3 separate regions of the Homo sapiens genome follow, and all the other regions are linked to region 2. The links are contacts of gene promoters, found by promoter capture Hi-C in human tissues and cell types (Jung and others, 2019). All regions are on one chromosome and are shown on one strand. Each heading gives the region's core, a stretch centred on a gene start or on the middle of the fragment in contact. The rest is flanking DNA. Distances are from core to core; before and after follow the strand shown. Region 1 overlaps FOXK2 (forkhead box K2). Region 2 holds the start of RAB40B (RAB40B, member RAS oncogene family). Region 3 overlaps TBCD (tubulin folding cofactor D).

Region 1 (4,083 bases), core at 718-3,217, 150 kb after region 2:
ACGAAGAAGCTCTAAGGACTCCAAAGACAGGTTCCTTAGGAACAAAGCCAGACTTTGTTGCAAGACTTCAGTATTAACCAACATCATACAGCCCCACAGAAATGAATCAGATTTAAATAAGTCCCCAACTTTAAGGAGAGTTATATTTAGTGATGTCTCTTTATGCAAAGCAAGTTCAACCAACTAGCCGATTTGTCAAACTATTCCCTACAACCAGTTTCAAAAAAGTACTTGAGGCCACGTCCGGTGGCTCACGCCTGTAATCCCAGCACTTTGGGAGGCCGAGGTGGGCGGATCACAAGCTCAGGAGTTCGAGACCATCCTGGCTAACATGGTGAAACCCCATCTCTACTAAAAATACAAAAATTACCCAGGCGTGGTGGTGGGCGCCTGTAGTCCCAAATACTCGGGAGACTGAGGCAGGAGAATGGCATGAACCTGGGAGGCGGAGACTGCAGTGAGCTGAGATCACGCCACTGCCCTCCAGCCTGGCAACAGAGCAAGACTCCATCTCGGGAAATAAAAAAAAAAGTACTTGAAAGCAGCCCCACAGCCCATCCACCATCTGCGTCACAGCAACGGGACAAACGTCCGTCTGGGACAATCTCCACCACAGGCGCAACTGCTGTGTCCCTGGAGCTTAGCCGATTCTAGTGGTGGTTCATGTCTTAAGGGCTCAGCACACATCCCAAGGTCTAGGGGCCTCTTCGCAGCCACGCCTGTGAATGTGGATCTCATGAACACAGACCCAGAGTCAGACCCCTCCAGAAACATCCAAAGTCCCCGAAAACCATGTTTGTGCTTCTGTGGAGTGACGGCATGGCTGGGAACCTGCATAACAAAAGCCCCTGCCATTCAAGCAGGTCATGTGTCCTTGACATGCAGAGGAGACAAGGCCAGGGCCAACACAGCTCAGGAGCAGCAGGTCTGGTCCCAGGCAGTCCCACTCTGAGAGGCAAGCACAGAAGAGCTGCCTTTGGCCTTGGCACCTGCCTGGGCTGTGGCCTCCAGGATGGCCCTGCTTCCCCCAGACTCCTGACGTCCTTTTCTGCCGTGACACAGATAACTCAGGCGACTCAGAAAAAATGCTCCATGGGTGAGCTCCTTTCTGCCTGTTTAAAAAACAAGTCTGGCTGGGCACGGTGGCTCACGCCTGTAATCCCAGCACTTTGGGAGGCCTTGGCAGGCAGATCACCTGAGCTCAGGAGTTCGAGATCAGCCTGGCCAACATAGTGAAACCCCATCTCTACTAAAAATACAAAAATCAGCCAGGTGTGGTGGCGCGTGACTGTAATCCCAGCTACTCCGGAGGCTGAGGCAGGAGAATCGCTTGAACTCAGGAGGCAGAGGTTGCAATGAGCCGAGATCATGTCACTGCACTGCAGCCTCGGCAACAGAGCAAGACTGTCTCCAAAAATAAAAAAGAAAGAAAATCTAACAAACTCTTTCCAGTCTGTGATTTTACGTAACGGGGTGACCTACAGAGCACCTCTCCGGTTTGGAGCCTTGCAGAGCACGCGGAGACGCTTGAGCAGAGTGGCTGCAGAGGTCACTCTGCACTCCAGAGCCCTGTTTGGGATGCTGCTCTTCAACCACCTCAGCCAAGTGCTCACAGCCAGCATCATTGTCCACGGCACAAAACGACACCAGGGTAACACGGCCATGGTGCCCTGAGAGGACACAACTTCACCTCTAGAGTTCCTGCCAAAGGTAACTAACCTAGATCTAATCAAGAGGAAACATCCAACAAATCCTAACTGAGGGACGTTCGACGAAATCACTAATGCTGTGCTCTTCAAAAATATCAATGTCACAGAAGACAAAGGCTGAGGATGGCCACACATAGAAGAGGATTAAAGCGACAGGAGGGTTCAGTGTGACACAGGGCCTATCAGTGAAGGGCAGGAGCGACGGTGGGTGAAGCCTGGAGAAGGTCGGCCATTAGGACACAGTTGCCATAGCAGTTCTCACCAGGGCAGGCACAGAAGAGGATGCCTGCAGGGAAAGCGTCACCTTTGCAACTGCCCCTCGAATGTTTAAGGAGAGGGAGAGAGACTGAACATGCGGGTTTGGTGAAACACTAACGGAGTGGGAATCTGGGAAAACGGAAGTTCTCTGTACTATTTTTGCAATTTTGCTTTAATTCTGAAGTAATTTCAAAAGAAAAAGAAAAACATTTGTAAGCCTTCAACATGTCCAATGCAAACCTCAACACTAGTCTAGGCCTGTGGCCAGGCTGGGAGCGTGTGCCTTGGTCCACCGCGAGGGGAGTGCGGACATGGAGAGTGTTTGGAAGCCACTTCATTTTTTGAATAATTTTATGGTGCCTCACACCCTGAGGACTCCACAAGGGGGAGCCCAGGGCCCAAGGCTGCCACCACCCAGAGTGCAGCAGGTGCTTCCCCACAGTCCAAGGACCTGCCCCAGAAAGGGGTGTGCAGGAGGTGGAGCACCGTGCCAGGCCCAGGAATGGGCTCCCCTGCCCCTCCTTGGAGGAGGTCTGAGTGGCAAGTGTCATCTTAAAGCACATAAATTACAAATAAACAGCTTGACAGAGCTGAAGACCGTTTAAGACAATGAGAAATACATTAGAAACCCTAAATAGCCCACACTTTGTCATCAGCAATAAACCTCAAGCAGCAACTATCACCTCAGCCTCAAATTTTTATGTTTTTTATTTTTATTTTTTAGATAGACTCGCTCTGTTGCCCAGGCTGGAATGCAGTGGCGTGATCTCAGCTCATTGCAACCTCCATCTCTCAAGTTCAAGTGAGTCTCCTGCCTCAGTTTCCCAAGTAGCTAAGACTACAAGCACATGTCCCCACACCTGGCTAATTTTTTGTAATTTTTTTTAGTACAGACAGGGTTTCACCATGATGGCCAGGCTGGTCTCAAACTCCTGACCTCAGGTGATCCACCCGCCTTGACCTCCCAAAGTGCTGGGATTGCAGGCATGAGCCACCGTGCCTGGCCAGCTTTAACTTCTTATCCTTCAAAACTCATGACATGCCATCATGTTTATTTTTATTTTTTTTTTAATTTTTTTTTTTGAGATGGAGTCTCGCTCTATCGCCCAGGCTGGAGTGCAGAGGTGCAATCTAAGCTCACTGCAAACTCCGCCTCCCAGGTTCACGCCATTCTCCTGCCTCAGCCTCCCGAGTAGCTAGGACTACAGGTGCCCGCCACCACGCCCGGCTAATTTTTTGGATTTTTAGTAGAGACGGGGTTTCACCGTGTTAGCCAGGATGGTCTCAGTCTCCTGAGCTTGTGATCCGCCCGCCTCGGCCTCCCAAAGTGCTGGGATGACAGGCGTGAGCCACCACTTCCGGCCTTTCAGCACAAATCTTCTAACCTAAGCCTCCGAAGCTTAAAACAGGCTTTGACACCTAACGACCCGGCTCAGTACTGGCTTGCAAGTGTCATCTTTCAGTGACGCACGCTTACTGCACGCAGTGCTTCACAGTGACTTAGAAACCACCTAGTTTTGACACAGAACTTTTCCATACAGACAAGGCCGGTTTCAGGCTTGTGTGGCCAGCACAGCTGCACAAAGCCCACCTCAGGGCCGGCGCCGTGGCCCACACCTGTCATCCCAGCACTTTGGGAGGCTGAGGCAGGCGGATCACAAGGTCAGAAGATCGAGACCATCCTGGCTAACATGGTGAAACCCTGTCTCTATTAAAAAATACAACAAAAATTAGCCGGGCGTGGTGGCGGGCGCCTGTAGTCCCAGCTACTCGGGAGGCTGAGGCAGGAGAATGGCGTGAACCCGGGAGGCGGAGCTTGTAGTGAGCCGAGATTGCGCCACTGCACTCCCGCCTGGGGGACAGAGCAAGACTCCATCTCAAAAAAAAAAAAAAAAAAGCCCGCCTCAGAAGGGCCAGGCATGGAGTTTAATGCCTTACTGCCAACATCTTGAAATCCCTAATCATTTATCTTTAAATTGGTGTTCTGTAGTGAAGTTCAATGGGACACAGCCCATCTTGCTCCTGCACCCCCTTCTTCCCCCACAACTGTCCAATGTCCCTGGTGGGGTGTGAACAGGGGTGCCTTGCTTCAGACACGTATTCCTGGGAAAGCTTG
Region 2 (3,795 bases), core at 1,006-3,505:
GCAAGAAGATGGACACCATATCTGAACACAGCCCTCTTCTGACGTGGTTATTTTACCTGGCCCTCCAGGTGGGAGTGGCCATGTTCCAGCTCAGCCAAGGCCAGCTTGGAGGTGACAACTAGGAGGTGGTGAGGACCTTCTGTGGGGCAGGAGAAGAGCAGACAAGGGCTCCCCCATCACCTGTCCTCTGTAGGAAGTGGTCTGGCCACCCCTCTCCATGCCCCACCGTGAACACTGCTGGACTGCTGGGTGTGACCCCGAGGGTGGGCTGGGGGCCTCCTGACCCCTATTGTACAGTGAGTCTGGATGTGTAGGTGGGGAGCGAGCAAAAGAAGGTACCCTTTCCTCACTAGGTAATAGCCATGTGACCCACAGCTGATTGGAACATGGAGACTGAGGGTTAGGGATGGGAAGGAAACTCCCCTGAATTCTTTTTGGCAGAGTGGTGGGGCTGGGGACTAAATGCCATCTTTCTCATAGTTTTCTAGCGTCCACCTTCCATCCTCTTTTCTTCCTCTGACCTTCCTTCTAAAAAAAAACAGTGCTGCAATCCCAGCATTTTGGGAGGCCGAGGTCGATCACTTGAGGTCAGGAGTCAAAGACCAGCCTGGCCAACATGGCAAAATCCCATCTCTACTAAAAATGCAAAAATTAGCTGGGTGTGGTGGCACATGCCTGTAATCCTAGCTACTTGGGAGGCTTGAATCCAGGAGGTGGAAGTTGCAGTGAGCCAAGATTACATCACTGCACTCCAGCCTGGGCAACAGAGCAAGACTCTGTCTCAAAAAAAAAAAAATGTGGCTGCATTAGTAACTAAAGCAACTAATCAACCAATGAATAACAGGTGTTGCAAACTAAATTGGCATTCCAAAGTAAACATTTTCTAGGTCCAAATGAATGCAAATGACAAATATAATAATCTTGACTTCAGTCTCTTTTGTAATTCTTCTTCCGCTCCCTCTTCTGTTCCTCCCCCACAAAAAACTTCTAATGGGGTCTAGAGCAGTTCCCTACACAACGCAGGGTGGAGGGGATGAAGTAGTGGGGGCATTATCCTTCTTCTTGGACGGAGCTCGCCCTTTGCCTGCTGCCTGAATTCTGCACCAAATAAACCAATGTGCACCTGGTGAGACCCTCAGAGCGAAGGGCAGACCTCGGCCTGGCAACCCTTGCTCTCTAGAGCAGAGGAGAAGCCAAAAGGCTGGAGGGTCCCACCCAATGCTCTCCTCCAGCACGCACGCAAACACATGCATGGATGCACAAACAAGCGCACGCACACATAGGAGCGCATGCATAGAAGCAGCACACGCAGACACACACATGCAAAGATGCCTGCAAAGGCACACATGCACACGCACATACATGTGCAGACACCTGCAGAGGCACACATGCACACGCAGACACACAGATGTGCAGACATCTGCAGAGGGACACATGCACACGCACATACATGTGCAGACACCTGCAGAGGGACACATGCACACGCAGACACATAGATGTGCAGACACCTGCAGAGGGACACATGCACACGCAGACACATACATGTGCAGATATCTGCAGAGGCACACATGCACACGCAGACATGCACACACACGAACACATGCACACGTACACAGGCGCATGTGCACACACAGGCATTCAGGCACGCCGCGTAAATGGGGCAACGACGAGGCCCTGGATGAACCGTGGGGAGAGACCGCGAGCCTGGATTCTACGGCGACAGGGACTCCTCCGGCGAGGCGGCCTGCGGGGGCCTTCCGGCCGCGTCCGCCAACTGGACCGACCCCGAGCCCCACCCGGCCAGGCACCCGAGGTCTCCCTGGTGGGCAGGTGGGGAGGCCCCACGCTGGGACCCTGCACCGCCCCTCGCCCCTCCCGACTCGGGGCGTGCAGACCCGACGACCGTGGGAGCGAGTTCGTGGCGCTCACGGGCGCACGCGAGAGTGTAAACACCCGGCCCCACCCCCTGATCGCCCCCACCCCGCCCCGCCATTGGCTGCGGGAGCAGAGTCCCCGCCTCCTGCTTGTTCTGGCTCCGCCCCTGCCCCGTCTCCGGGCCTCCATTGGCTGTGGTGACAGCGACCTTTCAGGAGGGGCGGGTGGGCGACAGCCCGGAGGCGGTGACGAGAGTAAGATGGACGGACAACCAAGCCAGTGAAAGCGCGCAGCTGCCCTAGCAACTGCGGTCCACCAATGGCGGGGCCGGGCGGGGATGCGCGCTGTCAGCGCTGGGCGGCGGGGCGGGGCCGGAGGCGAGCAAGGACTCGGGGCCCGCGCGGCGCCTCTCGGGGCCGGGCCGCCGCCTCTGCGCTCAGCCCCGCAGGCCGGGCATGGGTGGGGGCGCCGGGCCGTCACGATGAGCGCCCTGGGCAGCCCGGTCCGGGCCTACGACTTTCTGCTCAAGTTCCTGCTGGTGGGCGACAGCGACGTGGGCAAGGGCGAGATCCTGGCGAGCCTGCAGGATGGCGCGGCCGAGTCCCCGTACGGCCACCCGGCGGGTGAGCGCGGGCGGAGGGCGTGCCGGGGTGCGGGCGCGGGGCCGGGGAGGGGCGCGGGGCTGGGGAGGGGGTGCGGGTGGGGGTCCGGGTCCGGGGACGCGAGACCGGGCAGGGGTCGGGAAGAGGCCGGGGCGCGTGGCCGGGGAGGGTAGGAGTCCCGGTCCGGGGGCGCGGGGCTGAGGAGGAGCGCGGTTCGCGGGCGGGCCTTTCTCCGCCCGGCCCTGGCCCTCGTGCTGCGGCGTCCCTGTTGCACCCCCAGTTCCACTCGAGGCCCCGCGGCGCAGTCTCCATCCTTCTCCGCAGTCTGCGCGCAGCGGGAGCCCGCGGCTGGGCCGGGCGCTGGGCTCCTCCCGACCTGGGGCCGCTGCTGTGGGGACCCGGGGCGGGGGCTCGAGTCCGCAAGTGCGCGTTCGGCCGCGGGGCAGGAGGGGCGGGAGGGGACGCGAGCTCCGGGGCTCCTGGGGCGGAGCGCGGCGAGCAGGCGCCCAGGTGCTGGGTCTGCGCGTGGGTCGGAGGGGAGGGGAGACCAGGGTCCGGTCCCGAGGCCAGGGGTCCCGCGTGTCCGGGGGAGAGGAAGGAGCACAGGTGACTCGCGTGCGGAAGAGGGGACCCCCCACGACAGCGGCCGGAGAGCGGGTTCCAGGGCGAGGGGAGGCCGGAGCGCCCAGAGCTCCCAGGCAGGCAGCCCGGGGATCCCCCAAGTTTGAGGCTTGAAAGCCGGCGCCCGGCGAGGGGGTGGACGGCTCCGGGGAAAGAAAGGCGGGGGCAGGAACCCAGGAGAAGGGGGAACGCGCAGAGGCGAACACCTCGGCTGGGAGTGAGGAGCAGGCGGGGCCTTCACCCACGCGCATCCCTGGAACAGCTTGGACGAGGCCGACCCTGAGGCTGTGGAAGGAGCCCAGCCTGTGCCCACCTTCCTGCCGCGCCTCGGGGCTGAACCCACGCTTCCAACAGAGACCCGCTCTGAGTCCTGGGCGGAGGAGGGCAGCCGGGCGTGGAGATGGAGTCTTGGTGGGAAGGACCTGTCAGCTCTGGGGCCTGGGAAGGGTCTGGGAAGCCCCAGGTCCAGGGTCCTGCCAGAGACGAACTTAGCGGGAGAGGGTGGGAGGAAGCGGGATCTGAGGCTGCTCGGTAGAGGGTGCAGGCTGTCCCCTAAGGGCAGCTCCAGGCAGGCGGCGTGAGCACCAAGGGAGTGTGGCACGGCTGGAGGGGGTGGCCTGAGACTGTGGAGCGTGGGGTGGGACTCAGGTGCCCGGCCACACCTCAGCTTAGGGGACGGGGTGAGGAATGGGCAGAG
Region 3 (4,441 bases), core at 1,359-3,858, 190 kb before region 2:
GTCAGCTTCCGCCAACACCAGAGGCAAGTTCAGAACAAACAGCACAACGTGAATGACCCACGGCTTTATTTTTTAAATAAAAGCCCTCATTGTTGGCTGAACAGAGCCTCAAGGTGCGTCACTCTGTTTTTACGTCCTGGTGCTCTTTAAAACCACAATTTAAGAATTCAAGTTTATAAAATCAGACACATCCTGAAAAGTGGCCTTTACCACTGAGCCTCCCAGCAGCACCCACGCGGAGGCCCCGGCTGTCAACTCAGAGAGACAGACAGGCAGGTTAAATCAAAGCCCAGAGCCCGAACACTCTTCCTCAGGAGTGAGGCAGCTCATGGTCACCAACTGGCACCACGTGCCGCCCTCCAGGGAGGGCGCCCTGCCCGCACCCATGGCACGGTGTCAATAGGCTCTCCAGGCCGAGTCCCAGGGCCGGGCACAGGCCCAGAGCAAGGGCTGCTGAAAAGGTCAAAATGTGAACTTCAACAGGATGAAGTGCTTCCAGGAGGCCTCTCATGTCCTCCCCAAACACCCTGCCCCCCTTAGGCGCACCGACCAGGCAGAGCAGGTTACCTGGGCAAGGTGACAACCACACCTCCCTTCCCATGTGTCACCAGCTGGTGCCCCGTCCTTCCCAAAAGCACCCGGGCTCCGAGTTCTCAGGGCTGGAGACACAGGAGACTTCAGTGTCCCAGGAAGACCCAGCAAAGTGCACCCACGGCCACACCACACACACCACCAGCAAGGGGCGAGGCCAGGGAGGCTGGCGGCTTCAGGGACCACGCTCTGGAGGAGCGACCTCCCGCCTGGCAGGATTCCTGCCAACACTCGCCTGGGGGCTTCCTGAGAGCAAGGTTGAGCGATGGCTGCTGGGAGGAGCACACACAGACGGGCACCAAGTAAGGAGCCGAACACAGCCACCCAGGGTCTGTGCCCCCACCCCCCAGGGAAAAGGAGCAGACGCGCCCACCACCTCTGGCCAATCACACAGAAACCAGACGTGCGGGTGGCTCCAAGGCAGACCCCTGGGCTGGGCTGGAGATTGGAGGAAACAGGCGCTTCACAGCAGGCTGGGAGGAGGCCTGACTGCTGCTTTGCAAATTTGTAACTTTTGTGATAAATTCATTAGGAAAGTAAGAAACAAAACCCGCCAAAAGGCAATGCAACAAAGATATACTGTAACATCAATTTAACATACACTATTAGGAAGACATGTACCATTCCAGTGGTATCTAAAAGATGTTTTAAAAATTCAAGATTTATGTGGAAAAGCACAAGCCCTAAAACAGGGAAAACAGTCCTGAGAAAGAAGACGCTGGGAGGCATCTCCCTGCCCAGTGCGAAGGCTGACTATGCACAGCAGCATCGCAGCACAGCCCGTCACACAGTGTGCGCTGGCAGAACAGACACGCAGACCAACCAGCAGAACAGAAAACACGGGACAGCATCCCCGGGACCGGGCGAGGTGGAGTTCCCAGACCTTAAGAAAGTCTTCACGTCTTAAAAAGCACTAAAAACATGAGCCACAAAAACAAAAAACTGATCGAGACCCCAGCAAAATTAAAAAATTAAAAACTCTTGCCCTATGAAGAGGACGGAAAGATGAGCTACAGACTGGGAGAAAGCCAAACGCAAATCCAACAGAGGACCAGAATCCTACATATGTAAAGAGTGCCCTAAACTCAAGAACTACAAAAAACAATCCACTTAGAAATGAGTAAAAGACCTGAGCAGACATTTCACCAAAGAGGAGGTACAGACGGCAAGTAAGCCCGTGAAAGATGCTCCACACCATCAGGCATGACAGAAACGCAGGTAAAGACCACAACGACGTATCACCACATGCCTGTCAAAAAGGCCGACACAGAAAACAGTGGCCATGTCAGACACAAGCGAGGACAGAGAAAGGCAGGGCTGCGGGCAGGTGGTGGTGCGAACGTGAATGGTGCAGCTGCTCTAGAAAGCAGTTTAAATGTCCAACTACCACGACCCAGAAACTACTCCTGGCATTTAACCCAGAGAAATGGAAGTTACACTCACACGAAAACCTGAGCACGAATGTTTACAGCAGCTTAAAGACTAGAAACCATCCTGATGTCGTAATACATGAATGGTCACACAAACCACGGCACCACTCAGCAACAGAAGCAGCAAACCAGCACCACCCACCACGCTCGGGGTGGGTCTCCAGAGAGCTGTGCCGAGAGAAGAAAGCTACAGCATTAGAGGCCACAGAGTCCATTTACACAGCATTCTCGAGATGACAGAATAGAATAGGCAACGGAGAGCCGACCGGTGGCTGCCAAGGGTCAGGAGAGGGAAACAGCAGGGACTGTGGGCAAAGCAGTAGCACAGGCCTCTCGGGAAGACAGGGCTGCTGTGTATCCTGATTGTGGTGGTGGATACGTGAATTTGTATGTGATACAATCACACAGAAGTAAACGCGTGAGCGCACGTGCGCGCGCGCGCACACACACACACACACACACACACACACACACACACAGAGTACAGGTAAAACCAAGGAAGAAGGAATAAGACTGGTGGGTTGGCTCAATGTTCTAGGCTGTGATGTTCCATTGCGGTTTTGCCAGATTTCATCATGGAGGCAATGGTGAAACACGCATGGGCTCTCCCTGCATTAGTCTTTAAAACTCCATGTAAATCTCCGCCAGGCACAGTGGCTCACGTCTGTAATCCCAGCACTTTGGGAGCCGAGGCAGGCAGATCACTTCAGGTCAGGAGTTCGAGACCATCCTGGCCAACATGGTGAAACCCCGTCTCTACTAAAAATACAAAAAGTAGCCGGGCATGGTGGTGCACGCCTGTAATCCCAGCTACTCGGGAGGCTGAGGCAGGAGAACTGCTTGAACCCGGGAGGCCGAGGTTGCAATAAGCCAAGATCGCACCACTGCACTCCAGCCTGGGTGACAGAGTGGGAGGGGAGGGGAGGGGAGGGGAGGGGAGGGGAGGGGAGGGGAGGGGAGGGGAGGGGAGGGGAGAAAACTGCATATAAATCTCAATTATCCCAAAATAAAAAGTCACAAATAGAGGTCAGACACTATGTATCAAACGAAATGCTGGAAGAAAAAGATTTAAAATCTTCTCAGTTAAATGTAGGCTTTAAGTGCCTTTACTTTAACTGTGAGTGAACGGGGCCCCATCTCCCTTCCTCATGATGAACAAGAAGCCACGACCACACCCCATCTCTACTGCCCATTCCTTCCCCGCCGGGAGACATGTCTTCTTGCAATGTCAGCACGTTTGGGGGTCTGCTAGATTCCTTCCAATATGCAGAAAAACCAGCATTCAGCAACGAACACAGCTGGAACTGTTTTCACAAACTCACTCACACACTGACTGCCTGAGTCGCCATGCTCCTGCCAATGCTGAGAACCAGCTGCAGCACCTTCCTCACAGCGTTGCTGGGAGGGTCACAAACCATGGGATGGACGACCGCGGCCAGTCTTGACATGGGAGCACCAGGGCAATGCAGGGCGTCTAGAGTTCAGGGGCAAGGGACCGTGTCCAGCCCCAAGGAGGGACAGGACTTCAACGCCTTTTGCTGCTGCCTCCTGGCCGGTGCTGAAGAGGCCTCAGGGCCTCACAGGGGTGACCTCACCCAGTGACACAGCGTCAAACAGGAAGCCAAGCTGAGCCAGAAAGACCGAGACATTGTTATCTGAAAGCAGCAGCTCCAAAAAATGATTCCCAATTATGAGGCCCTCAATCCTCACATTTCCAACTAAGCTTCAAAAAGGTGTCTTTTACCTTTGGCTGTTTTAATTTTGCAAGCTACAGGGTAAGCTAGGTGCACTCGGTGGTATTTATCAGAAAAGATTTATTGCCAATTTAAAGGGATTTTAATGTGAAAAATGATTTATATTATTTCACTTCATATTCAGGGTTCATAGAAGCCTAAGTACTTTAATTTTATTACTGCTTCCCATGAAATGTCTTAGGTTGCAGTAAAGAAAATCTAAAAGCTTAATTTAAGTACAGATTTAACATAAAATTGTATTATATTTCAAAGTCTTACATTTACTGCCTTTGGGTAAATAGCAGGGCAAAAATGTGATGATTTCCCCAAAAAATTATGAGGTTTTTACTGATGCTGAAGACAAAATAAGAGCAGCTTCAGGGACAGAGAAGAGCTTCTGAGCTCTCCTGGTGAATTCTCTCTAGTTTTAAAGGACCTGAGGCAGAGAAAGACTTCTAACTACTTCAGGATACAGAGAGCAGGCAGACCACCAGAAGCTATAGAAGATGACAGACATTTTGAGCTAGAAAGACTTCAGGGTATCATCTGAGCTCCTGCATTTGAGAGAGAGAGAGAACCAACACTGCACCTGCACGGCCCCACTCACCAGGGGCCACACACTGCAGGGCTGACAGGAAACCATCACCGGTCCCAGCACCCCTTCCGCCTGGTCCCACTCACCAGGGG

The links. The method cuts DNA at HindIII sites, captures the fragments that hold promoters and counts their contacts. A contact is called where the count stands out against the background at its distance.
Region 1: a fragment that was not itself captured here is called in contact with the fragment with the promoter of RAB40B in region 2 in 1 of the 25 tissues and cell types used here (dorsolateral prefrontal cortex).
Region 3: a contact is called between a fragment that was not itself captured here and the fragment with the promoter of RAB40B in region 2, in 2 of the 25 tissues and cell types used here (small bowel and thymus).

What each region holds. Positions count from the first base shown.
Region 1 is chr17:82,550,284-82,554,366 of GRCh38, reverse strand. The region is part of intron 1 of FOXK2 (forkhead box K2); the gene reads right to left. Among named protein-coding and RNA genes, the nearest start is that of FOXK2, 33 kb to the right of the region's middle. RefSeq lists silencers at 851-1,022, 2,200-2,494 and an enhancer at 1,489-2,113. The HindIII fragment of the contact is 6,006 bases long and covers 1-4,083 here.
Region 2 is chr17:82,697,158-82,700,952 of GRCh38, reverse strand. RAB40B (RAB40B, member RAS oncogene family) reads left to right here and starts at 2,255. Exons shown (of 6, transcript NM_006822.3): 1 at 2,255-2,498. The coding sequence starts at 2,357. RefSeq lists silencers at 1,687-2,076, 2,097-2,526. The HindIII fragment of the contact is 28,650 bases long and covers 1-3,795 here.
Region 3 is chr17:82,885,191-82,889,631 of GRCh38, reverse strand. All of the region lies in intron 15 of TBCD (tubulin folding cofactor D), which reads right to left. Among named protein-coding and RNA genes, the nearest start is that of ZNF750, 47 kb to the right of the region's middle. RefSeq lists an enhancer at 3,753-4,441. The HindIII fragment of the contact is 6,882 bases long and covers 1-4,441 here.